Linked DNA regions of Homo sapiens: region 1 is linked to region 2. The links are contacts of gene promoters, found by promoter capture Hi-C in blood cells and fetal thymus (Javierre and others, 2016). All regions are on one chromosome and are shown on one strand. Each heading gives the region's core, a stretch centred on a gene start or on the middle of the fragment in contact. The rest is flanking DNA. Distances are from core to core; before and after follow the strand shown.

Evidence for each region. The method cuts DNA at HindIII sites, captures the fragments that hold promoters and counts their contacts. A CHiCAGO score of 5 or more calls a contact.
Region 1: a fragment that was not itself captured here is called in contact with the fragment with the promoter of ZCCHC4 in region 2 in 1 of 17 cell types (naive CD4 T cells); the score reaches 6.1 in naive CD4 T cells.

The regions. Positions count from the first base shown.
Region 1 is chr4:26,321,581-26,326,910 of GRCh38, forward strand. The region is part of intron 1 of RBPJ (recombination signal binding protein for immunoglobulin kappa J region); the gene reads left to right. Among named protein-coding and RNA genes, the nearest start is that of RBPJ, 3.2 kb to the left of the region's middle. RefSeq lists an enhancer at 1-811. The HindIII fragment of the contact is 759 bases long and covers 1,201-1,959 here.
Region 2 is chr4:25,311,233-25,316,229 of GRCh38, forward strand. It overlaps ZCCHC4 (zinc finger CCHC-type containing 4), which reads left to right and starts at 1,542. Exons shown (of 13, transcript NM_024936.3): 1 at 1,542-1,704; 2 at 2,814-2,932; 3 at 4,086-4,168. The coding sequence starts at 1,578. RefSeq lists enhancers at 1,196-2,072, 1,601-1,660 and silencers at 1,321-1,390, 1,398-1,602. The HindIII fragment of the contact is 7,197 bases long and covers 1-4,997 here.

The DNA of each region.
Region 1 (5,330 bases), core at 330-2,829, 1.0 Mb after region 2:
TTGTGCCACACTCTTGTCGTTAGCCCAGTGACCTGCCACAGCCCGGGCACCAGATTTCTGCCTTAATTGTTCTTCCATTGTCTTTCTCCTGTGGGTCCCCTCTCACCTTTCTGTATGGTCCTGGATCACCCCCCGAGGCTTTGTCTCCCCCATCCACGGGCTTATTCTCTCGGCACCCCCTTCCTCTCCCGTCATCGGTTGATTTATCCACAACCCACGGTGTACGTCTGCTGAACTGTCTCAGCCCCGGGGACTCCATCTGCTGCTTCTAAGTGCACACAAGACTCTACGGTTTGTTGTTTTGTGGGTCTGAAAGATGCATGGGATACTTAGTTTTCTCCTCCGCACCTCTTTTTCTCGGGATTTCTTGTACCCTCCCGCCCCCCTATCGCCACCCCTTTCTCTCGGGATTAAAGCGTCTCCAATTTTCATCGCCGTCTTTTTAGTGCCGTGGGTTGTTTTGCTTGGAAACAGTAGCCTTGGAAAAAGATCTGGTCTCTTGGTGGTTCTTGCGCCCCCCGGCCCCCGCCCCCCTCCTGGTTCCTGACGGCGTAGGCCAAGGGCAGCTGTCTGTCGAAGCTTTGCAATCTAGGCTGCCTGAGGATGATTGGAGGGTATCGTAGGACGGTTAGAAGGAGGCTCAAGATGTATATATGTGTTTTTCTGTTAGTGTTTGAGAATAGTTTCAGATAGCCACAATGGATATTCATTTGGCGTGTGAGTAGGAGTTGAGTGAATTTCCATGTTAAAAACTTGTGAGTGTTGGGGCGGAGAATTTCAGCATTTTCTAGAAATCTGGATTTAGAATTTATCAGTAACTTCTGCCTCATAAGGAAAAGGAGAGGCATTCCGCTTGGGAATTTTATATAAATGTTTTATTTTTTCTTAATCATTAGATAGTTTACAGTTATGTGCTTTTTGCTGCCCTGTAGATGCGTGACAACCCTTCTGTCCCATCATTGGGGTTGAAATGAGGACAGCACCGAAGAGTGCAGTTTCTGGTCGATGAATACTGCTTCTAAGATCTTTGTGGAAGATATTAATCAAATGCAGTTAAAAAGTATACGTATAATATGTATATTATATATATATATACACACACACACGTAATAGCCTGTAGTGAGATTATTTTAAAGACACTTCCTAGTGTTAAAGAACCCTTGAAGTGTTTCGAGTTCTTATTGTTTTGGTAATGCTAAAAGCTTGGGGTTGTGTGAATGGGGGTGGGGGGTGTGGTGTGATGTATTCTAATGACTTGAGTTATTCTGGGTGCTAGGAATAAGAGTTATTATATTTACCAGGATTACTATGCTGAAGGTATTCTTCAAGAGTTTGTTTTTTTTCTACTGGTTGATCTCTACTTTTAGAAGGTATGTTACCCATAAAATCATTTGGAGTGTCATTTCATTTACAAACTGAAGTTCTACAATAGTGAAGTGTTGTTGATAGGGGACATACGAGATCTACTCTAACGAGTATTGGAGCATTGGAAAATACTTTTTTTTCTGGCTGTGATTAGAATTAGTAGTTTGAGTTTTAATTAATGGAAAACCATGTTTTCATGATTGATACATAAGTTTTTTTGTGAAAATCTGCAGTCTGGGTCGCTTGAGTGGGTTTTACCAATAATCTTATGTCTCCCTTACTTGTTCTTGTACATAATCATTGTTTTGAAGGTAAAATCTTGAGCTCACTGGTTCTCTGACTGGGAGCAAAGTGTAAATACTGTGTAGTAATGGAAGGTATTTTGCTCTGACTTGTACCTGTAAGAATGATTACACAGACATGATAAAAGCGCTTTTACCATTTGAGTTGCGTTTTTCTTTCTAAATCGTGTAATACTTTTACTTACATGATTGGTGAAATAAAACTGCTTTTAATTAAATTATAACAGCAGCATATTTCGAAATCTGGATGCGTTGTGGCTGGAGAACTTTCATTCTGAGTATTAACTGTTAAAGCTTTAAATTTTATTATCCATGCATATTGCTGATGGATCTGTGAGTATATTTTCAGAAAACAGGAGACTTGCAATATTTTCAAATCTGTACTAATACACACTTGTAGGCATTAGATTTTAAGCAGTTAGGTTTGTTAAAAAGTTATCTGTTGTCCTATACCAACAGATTTCTATCAATGTTTTTTTTAAGTGGGTAAGATCAAAATTGGTTTGGTTGACAGGCCATTCTTGCCAGATGTAATTCATTAAATAACCTTTGGCACCCTTGATGGGTAAGGCATTAGGAAAAAATTGTTTCGTTTGAAAGTTATTATACATCTCATTCTTCTGTTCATTTTTAGAAATAAGACCCAGGACTTGGCTTTAAAGCATTATTTTGCATTTTGCTTCCTCCTAATACTAAATTTCATGTTATCTCAACTAGGGGCAGTATTTTCTCATGGATTGACTAAAAGTTGTTATTTTTGGCATCTGGCTTTGTGATTATTTCCAAGTTACTCTACTTCCCCTGGGCCAGTTTCCTAACTATGTAGTAAAATGGGAATTATAATAACTTGCCACATCTGCACAGGATTGCTGTGCCTTAAGATTCGCAGAGAGCATCCTTGGATGAAAACTGTGGGGAAGGTCTAGGAATTGTTACTGAAATAAGCTAATGTGAAGTAGGTCATATTTTATAGGAAGTCAAATAGGAGGTTTTTAAGTTCTTGGCAAGACACAGTAGCGATAGTGGGATTTTTTAAAATCCCAAATATGTATTATAATATGGGTAATAAAACAGATACCTTTATTCCTGCCCCCCATAAACTTATAGGGAAAGGGACAAATAAAACAAATTACAGGGTGATGTGTCGTGTGTGAGTGTGTGTGTGTGTGTGTGTGTGTGGTGTAAGAGATTGAAGTTCTGTCAAACTCAAATGTAATAACATTATAAAATTATGGGATGCCTTTCCTCTTTTGTTTTCTGCATGTAGCAATATTCTATTTATTTATTTTATTTTATTTTTTGAGACAGGGTCTCACTCTGTGGCCAGGCTGGAGTTCAGTGGCACAATCTTAGCTCACTGCAACCTCCACCTCCTGGGTTCAAGCGATCCTCGTGCCTTAGCCTCCTGAGTAGCTGGGATTACCAGCGTACACCATCATACCTGGCTAATTTTGTATTTTTAGTAGACATGGGGTTTCGCCATGTTGGCCAGGCTGATCTCAAACTCCTGACCTCAAGGGATCTGCCCACCTTGGCCTCCCAAAGTACTGGGATTACAGGGGTGAGCCACCATGCCTGGCCTGCATGTAGTAATATTTAACAAATGGTAGTACAACATGCTTTCACTGGACTCTAAGCCAAGTCTGTTAATAGCAGTGATTAATTTTAAATATGCCTTATATTTTTTAGTGCTTTGTTATTTGCTCTTAAGAATAAATTCTAATAACCATGACTATAATTTCAGATTTGACTCTTGGCCTTAGAAAAGTGTTTTGCATTTGAGGAGCACTCTGTAGATACGTATTGACTGAATGAAACCTGTTGCTTCTCTGTTCTTGGTAGATGATACCATATTCCGTTTGGTTCCCAAAGCCACGATTCCTAATTCCTCTCTCACCAGCCTTTACATTTAATTACTGAGAACTGATCATTTTTCCTTCTAAAAAATCTCTTGAATTTGTTTCCCTTATCCTCACTGCCGAAGTTCATGCTGTCATTTCTCACCTGGTTTACTATGACGTACTGACAGCCTCTTTCTGCTTCTAGAGTCACCACCTTTATCCAGCTTCTACATGTAGCAGAGCAGTCTTTCTAAAGAGCAAATCTGATCACTGCTTAATCTAAAAACCTTTCAATGGCTCCCCCTAGCAGCGTTCATTAAGAGAGGCAACAGAGTGGAGGGTTATGAGCTCACATTTAGTGTTTAATCTGAACTGGGTTCCAATTCTGTCTCTGGCACTTAAAACCCCTGCCAGTTAAAACCCCTGTAACATTGACAAGTTAATCTCTTTATCAATTGCAAGATAATTATTCCTAACTCAGAAAGTTGTTGTGAAGATTAAATGAGATAATGTATGAAAGCATTTAGCAGAATTCCTGGCATGTAGCAAGTGCTCAAAAGATGTTAGCTACTGTGGCGCATAGGATCCTCCATAACTATTTCATCTGTCTCTTCTCCAGCTGAGTTGTTTGCCATTTTCTCTCCATAATCAGTGCTTCAGTCATATTAAAGTATTTTGACATCTCTGCATGAGCCCAGCAGTTTAATGCGTTCTTGTGTATGAAAAGTAATGATCCTTAGTAGGTTATTTCTCAAGACTAAGGGAATATTCTAACCAGATCTACCAGACTACAGTTGGTGCCTGGCTGTATAAATACTGTATATTTAATACAGTATTAAATGCTGTATATAATTCTCTTGGAAGCATGATACTAAGTTGTAATTATCACACCCAAATATTGTCACTTGGTGGCAGGTATCATTTATATTCTTATACTTAGAAGATTGTCTATCACATGATAGAGACTCAGCAAAAAGAATTTTTGAACATAGGACTCAGTGCTTTGAAATCTTGGTGCAACATGGTTCATGTGGCACAATTTTAAAATTGTGTGTGTGCTTGTGTGTATACAGTATATGTGTGTCTAATTCATATATATGTATAATTTATATATAGGTATTTGACTTTGGTTCTGTAAGGAGTAATTGCTGAAGTACCCAGAGGAATTGATATTTTCAGCCACAAGCAATCTCATAGCCCCTGAGAACATTATAGTAAGGCTCTTAGGCAAAAGTTTTTTTTTTTGATTATTAGAAAATACTACATTATATTTGTATAAAACTGACAAGTTTAAATTTCACTTTTGTTTTTTATATGATTGGCTGTCAGTGTTTATCAAAAGATTCCATTATTTTTAACTGTTTTCAGTACTAGATGGCTAGGGATGTATGTTAGATTAAACCGTAGAACACTGTAGACTGCTTTTTGGGGAATCCATGCCATAGAACCAAATAATAAGTTGATAATTTACATGGAGACTCAGGTCTCATGGACATATTACTGACAGATAATTTCTTTAAGCTTCAGGTTCTACCTCTATAAAATAGGGGATGATAATTATATTTTATCTGTCAGGCACATTGTGACTGTCAAATAAGGTAAATTTTGTGAAATAAGGTCAAATGAAACAGTGTATGTGTAAGTGACTTGTAAACAGTAAAGCGTTCTATACAAATATTTTAATTACTATAAGAATCAGTTTCCTCTGGTAACCTTTCATCTTGAGCAGGGCTCAAGATGGACTTTTTATACTGCAAGCTGTGGTTTTGTGGGTCATGTTTTAGGAAGGCAGCAATGTATTTGGTGCAGAGGACCGCAACCC
Region 2 (4,997 bases), core at 292-2,791:
GAGACTATTTCGTCTACAACCATAGACATGTGGCTGCGTCTTGATTACTGCACTATAAGACTTGAAATTGAGTAGGCTGATTCCTCCCACTTCATTATTCTTTTTCCAAAATTGTTTTAGCTATTTTAGTTCCCTTGCCTTTCCATATAAATTTCAGAATATTGTCTAAATGTACAAAAAGAATCTGGCTGGGATTTTCATAGCAATTGTGCTACACCTGTATAAGCATTAAACCTGGGGAGAACTGATATCTTTACTATGTTGAGTCTTCTGATTTATGAATGCAGTATGTTTCTGCATTTGTTTATTCTTTGATTTTTTTTTTTTTTTTTTAAGACGGAGTCTCACTCTGTCACCCAGGCTGGAGTGCAGTGGCACAATCTCGGCTCACTGCAAGCTCCGCCTTCCGGGTTCACGCCATTCTCCTGCCTCAGCCTCCCGAGTAGCTGGGACTACAGGTGCCCGCCACCACGCCTGGCTAATTTTTTTGTTTTTGTATTTTTAGTATTTTTAGTAGAGACGGGGTTTCACGGTGTTAGCCAGGATGGTCTCGATCTCCTGACCTTGTGATCCACCTGCCTTGGCCTCCCAAAATTCTGGGATTATAGGCGTGAGCCACCGTGCCCGGCTATTCTTTGATTTTTAAAAAACTTTAAAAATTGCTTATTTATTTTAGAGATGTCGTCTCGCTTTGTTGCCCGGGCTGGTTTCGAACTCCTGGATTCAAGCAATCCTCCCTCCTTGGCCCCCCAAAGTGCTGGGATTACAGGTGTGAGCCACTGCACTCAGCCTTGATTTTTTTTAATCAAGCATTTTGGAGTTTTTAGCATACATAAAGCTCTGTACATATTTCGTTAGATTTACACCTATTTCATTTATTTGAGTGATTGTAAGTGGTATTCTATTTTTTAGTGTTCTTGTGATCATTGCTAGTATTTAGAAATCCAGTTGATGTTTGTGTGTTTATCTCATATCCTGCAACCTTGCTGAACTCAGTTTAAACCGGAGGTGTTTTCCTGATAGATTCTTTCGGATTTTTAAAATGTGGACAATCATGTCATCTGCAAATCAGGACGGTTTTCTTTCTTTCTTATGTATAAATGTCAATGAGTATGCAACTATGATGTGCAACTTTCAGCATTGTCCAAAAGTTACAGAGGATGATGCAGTGACTGTGACTTTGAAAAACAAAGAATGATCCTTAAATCACAGCTGCTGCAGCCATTTCAGCTATTTGGCAGAGGTGGTAATGCTGCCTTTTGGACCTACAATACAACCAAGTCTTTGTTCGAATCATCTCACTTCCTGGCTATATTCTTAAGAAAGGAGGGTGCTTCATGCGCTGAGCTCATGGCACAGGTCCCGCAAGTGACCTGCGAGCCCCACCGCTAGGGGCCGCTTAGGTGCAGCCCCCAGGTGGGCGGGGACTGCGTTTCGGGGCGTGGCCTCCGCCGCGGCAGCCCCCGCCCAAGCTCCTCCTAAGCGCCTGGGGGCGCTGTGGGTCGCTTTGGGTCGCGGGGGCGCTCTTTCTCAGCATTCTTGTTTCGTACTGAGGCTTTCGGGACGGCGGCGGGAAGATGGCGGCCTCCAGGAATGGGTTTGAAGCCGTGGAGGCAGAGGGCAGCGCAGGGTGCCGGGGAAGCTCGGGAATGGAGGTGGTGCTTCCTTTGGATCCTGCCGTCCCCGCCCCGCTGTGCCCTCACGGTGGGTCAGAGTCTGGGCTCAGCCTAACTGCCGGGCGCTGAGGGTGTGAGTTGGCTTGGAAGTGGCTTTTGGGGCTCCTGTATTTTTACCCGCCTCTTTCCCTCACCAGTGTGCTGCCTAGAAAATACTCCTTCCTCGGAACGCGGTGTTTTTCAACTTACTTGAGAAACATTCAGAGCAAGTCTCCACTCTTGTGGTTTTGGCTCCAGGACTATTTCATCTCTTTTGGGGGGAAGGGGCAGAAAAGTAGGCAAAGAGAAGAATGCATGGTATTGAATAGTTCTCGTTGACAAGTACTTGGGGATTTCATTTGTTGATTTGCTCTCCCTTCAAAAATAAAAAATTAGGGAGAAAAACAGTGTAATTCTTGCCTGCGAACTAGACTCAGTTTTTCTCTAACTTACAGAAAGTGGGCGTTTCCAGCTCAAAGCTCAGGTTTTCACTGCAAGGGTAACCGCGCAAGAGATGTCAAAGTCCTCAATTCTCTGAGTCCCTTCCTTGTTTTAGTCTCAGGTTTGTAATATTCACAACGTAGACAGCAACTGTACCGACAATAGCATTTTCTTTCTGAAGAGACCGGTTTTCAAAAATTATTTATAAGTAGTCACTGCCGGAATGTTGTAACAGAGAGAAAAGAAACATTCATTAAACACAGAGAAGCCGGCGTGGTGGCGTGCACCTGTAGTTCCAGCACTTGGGGGGCCGAGGCGGGCTGATCGCTTGAGCCCAGGAGTTTGAGACTAGCCCGGGCAAAAATGATGACACTCCGTCTACAAAAAAAGAAAAACAGCTGGGGACACGCAACTGTAGTCCCAGCTACTCGGGATGCTGAGGCGGGAGAATCGCTTGAGGCTAGGAAGCAGGATCTCAGTGAGCCATGATTGTGCCAGTGCGCTTCAGCCTGGGCGACAGAGGGAGACCCTGTCTCAAGAAAACAAAACAAAAAACCCTAACAAAACAAAAAACAACCAACCAAAGAGATGGATTTAATTATGATAAATTGTGCCTAAAGCTCAAACAAATTTTATTTAAGGGCAGCGAAAACTAAGAACTTGACGTAGATGACCATTACTTGACACTTTTTTTTTTTTTTTCTATTCTGGAACTAGGACCCACTCTTCTGTTTGTAAAGGTGACCCAAGGGAAAGAAGAAACTCGGAGGTTTTATGCCTGTTCAGCCTGTAGAGATAGAAAAGACTGTAATTTTTTTCAGTGGGAAGATGAAAAGGTATATCAACTTTTTGGATATTTATTTTTTATTTTTGGTATGTGTGACAATTTTGTTGAGAACGTGTAAACCAATAAAAATATGCGGTCTGAACATACAAGATAAATCTCTTAAGAGAGATGGAGATACTATGTTTGTTGGTTCAGAAAATGAGTTCATGTTTACTCTGATTACTGATATCTTAAACTACTGTCTCAAAGTCTTATTTCCCCATAAGACTCTCTGAGGTGGTAATATTGGGTGGGGCTGATCTTCTGTGTGTTAGCTTGGGCTTCTGTAACAGAAGTACCATAGGCTGTGTGGCTTAAACGACAGACATCTGTTTCTTACAGTTCTGGAGACTGGGAAGTCCAGGATCAAGATGCTGGCAGATCTAGTGTCTGGTGTAGGTCCTGTCCTCTTCCTGATTTGCAGAGGGTCATCCTTTCTTTATATCCTCATTTCCCAGAGAGAGGAAGCAAGCACTGTCTGTCTTAGAAGGACACTAATCTCATTCCTGAGGGCTCTACCCTCTTGACGTAATTACCTCTCAAAGGCGCCTCATTTAAATACCATCACATTGGGGTTAAGGCTTCAACATACGAATTTTAGGGGGCACAAACATTCAGTCGATAGCACCGTTGGCAGATACAGATTGCTCACTAAAGAGAAATCATGATCATTCCAGAAAGTGTTAAAAAACACTTTTTTTGAACATTTGCATTGAACATCCCTTATACAGCTATTAGATGACCAATGAAGGCACTTAGAGATATAGTCATGAGCTTGGTATCCTCTTGAACTCGGCTCCAGTTGAAGTTTCTGAAAACTTTGACCAGAGAATTTTCAGTTTTGTTAGGTTTATGGTAAAACAGTATTATATACCACTCTTCTGCAGACCCATTAAGGTGAATACTTGGTTTGTGTCCACCTTTTTGCTATTGTGGATGATGCTACAGTGAACATATGTTAATCTCTCAGTGCTTTAATATGCTGGATATTGCTTCAAGCTGCTCTAGAATTTTCCCAGTTTTCGCTGTTTTGTTTTCTCCTGAAATGAATGCCTGTTGAGTTGGTTGAATTTCTGACTTCTTGATGTCAGAATGTGATGCCAGTTCTTCTAGGATGATAGATATTTCACAGTTTATTCAATGGGTTTTGTACTCTCTTTCAGTTGTCAGGAGCTAGACTTGCTGCCCGAGAAGCTCATAACCGAAGATGTCAGCCTCCCCTGTCCCGAACGCAGTGTGTGGAAAGGTACTGATGCAGTGTCATTTTTCTTTATTAGTTTAGCTGTCATTTTTTTTGTTATTGCCTTTTTCTGTGCCTTTAAGTTTACTTTCATTTATTTATTTTTATTGTAGTTACATATATAATATAAAATTTGCCATTTTAATCATTTTCAAGTGTGCAATTCAGTGACATTAAGTACATTCATGTTGTTGTGTAACCATTGCCCCTATTCGCAAAACTTTTTCATCACTCCAAACAGAAACTGCCACCATTATGCTGTAACTCCTCATTCTACCTCCTCCCAAACCCTAGTAACCTCTGATTTATTTTTGTGTGTTTTTTTTTTTTTTTTTGAGACAGGGTCTCACTCTGTGTTGCCCAGGCTGAAGTGCAGTGGTGCTGTCACGACTCACTATAGCCTCAACCTCCTGGGCTCAACCAGTCCTCCACCTCAGCCTCATGAGTAGCTGGGACTTCAGGCACACGCCACCACACCCAGCTAATTTATTATTATTTTTTATAGAGATAAGGTCTTGCTATGTTGCCCAGAACTCCTGGTCTAGAACTACTGGGCTCAAGGGATCCGCCCACCTCAGCCTCCCAAACTGTGAAGGTTACAGGCATGAGCCATTGTGCCCGACTATTTTTGTTGCTATGAATTTGACAATTCTGTGTACCTCATACAAGTGAGACTATACAATATTTGTCCTTTTGGGTCTGGCTTATTTTACTTAGCATAATGTCTTCAAGGTTCATGCATGTGGTAGCATGTATCAGAACTGTATTCCTTTTTACAACTGAATAATATCCGTTGTCTGTCTATACCACAGTTTAAAAATCTGTTCATCTGTTG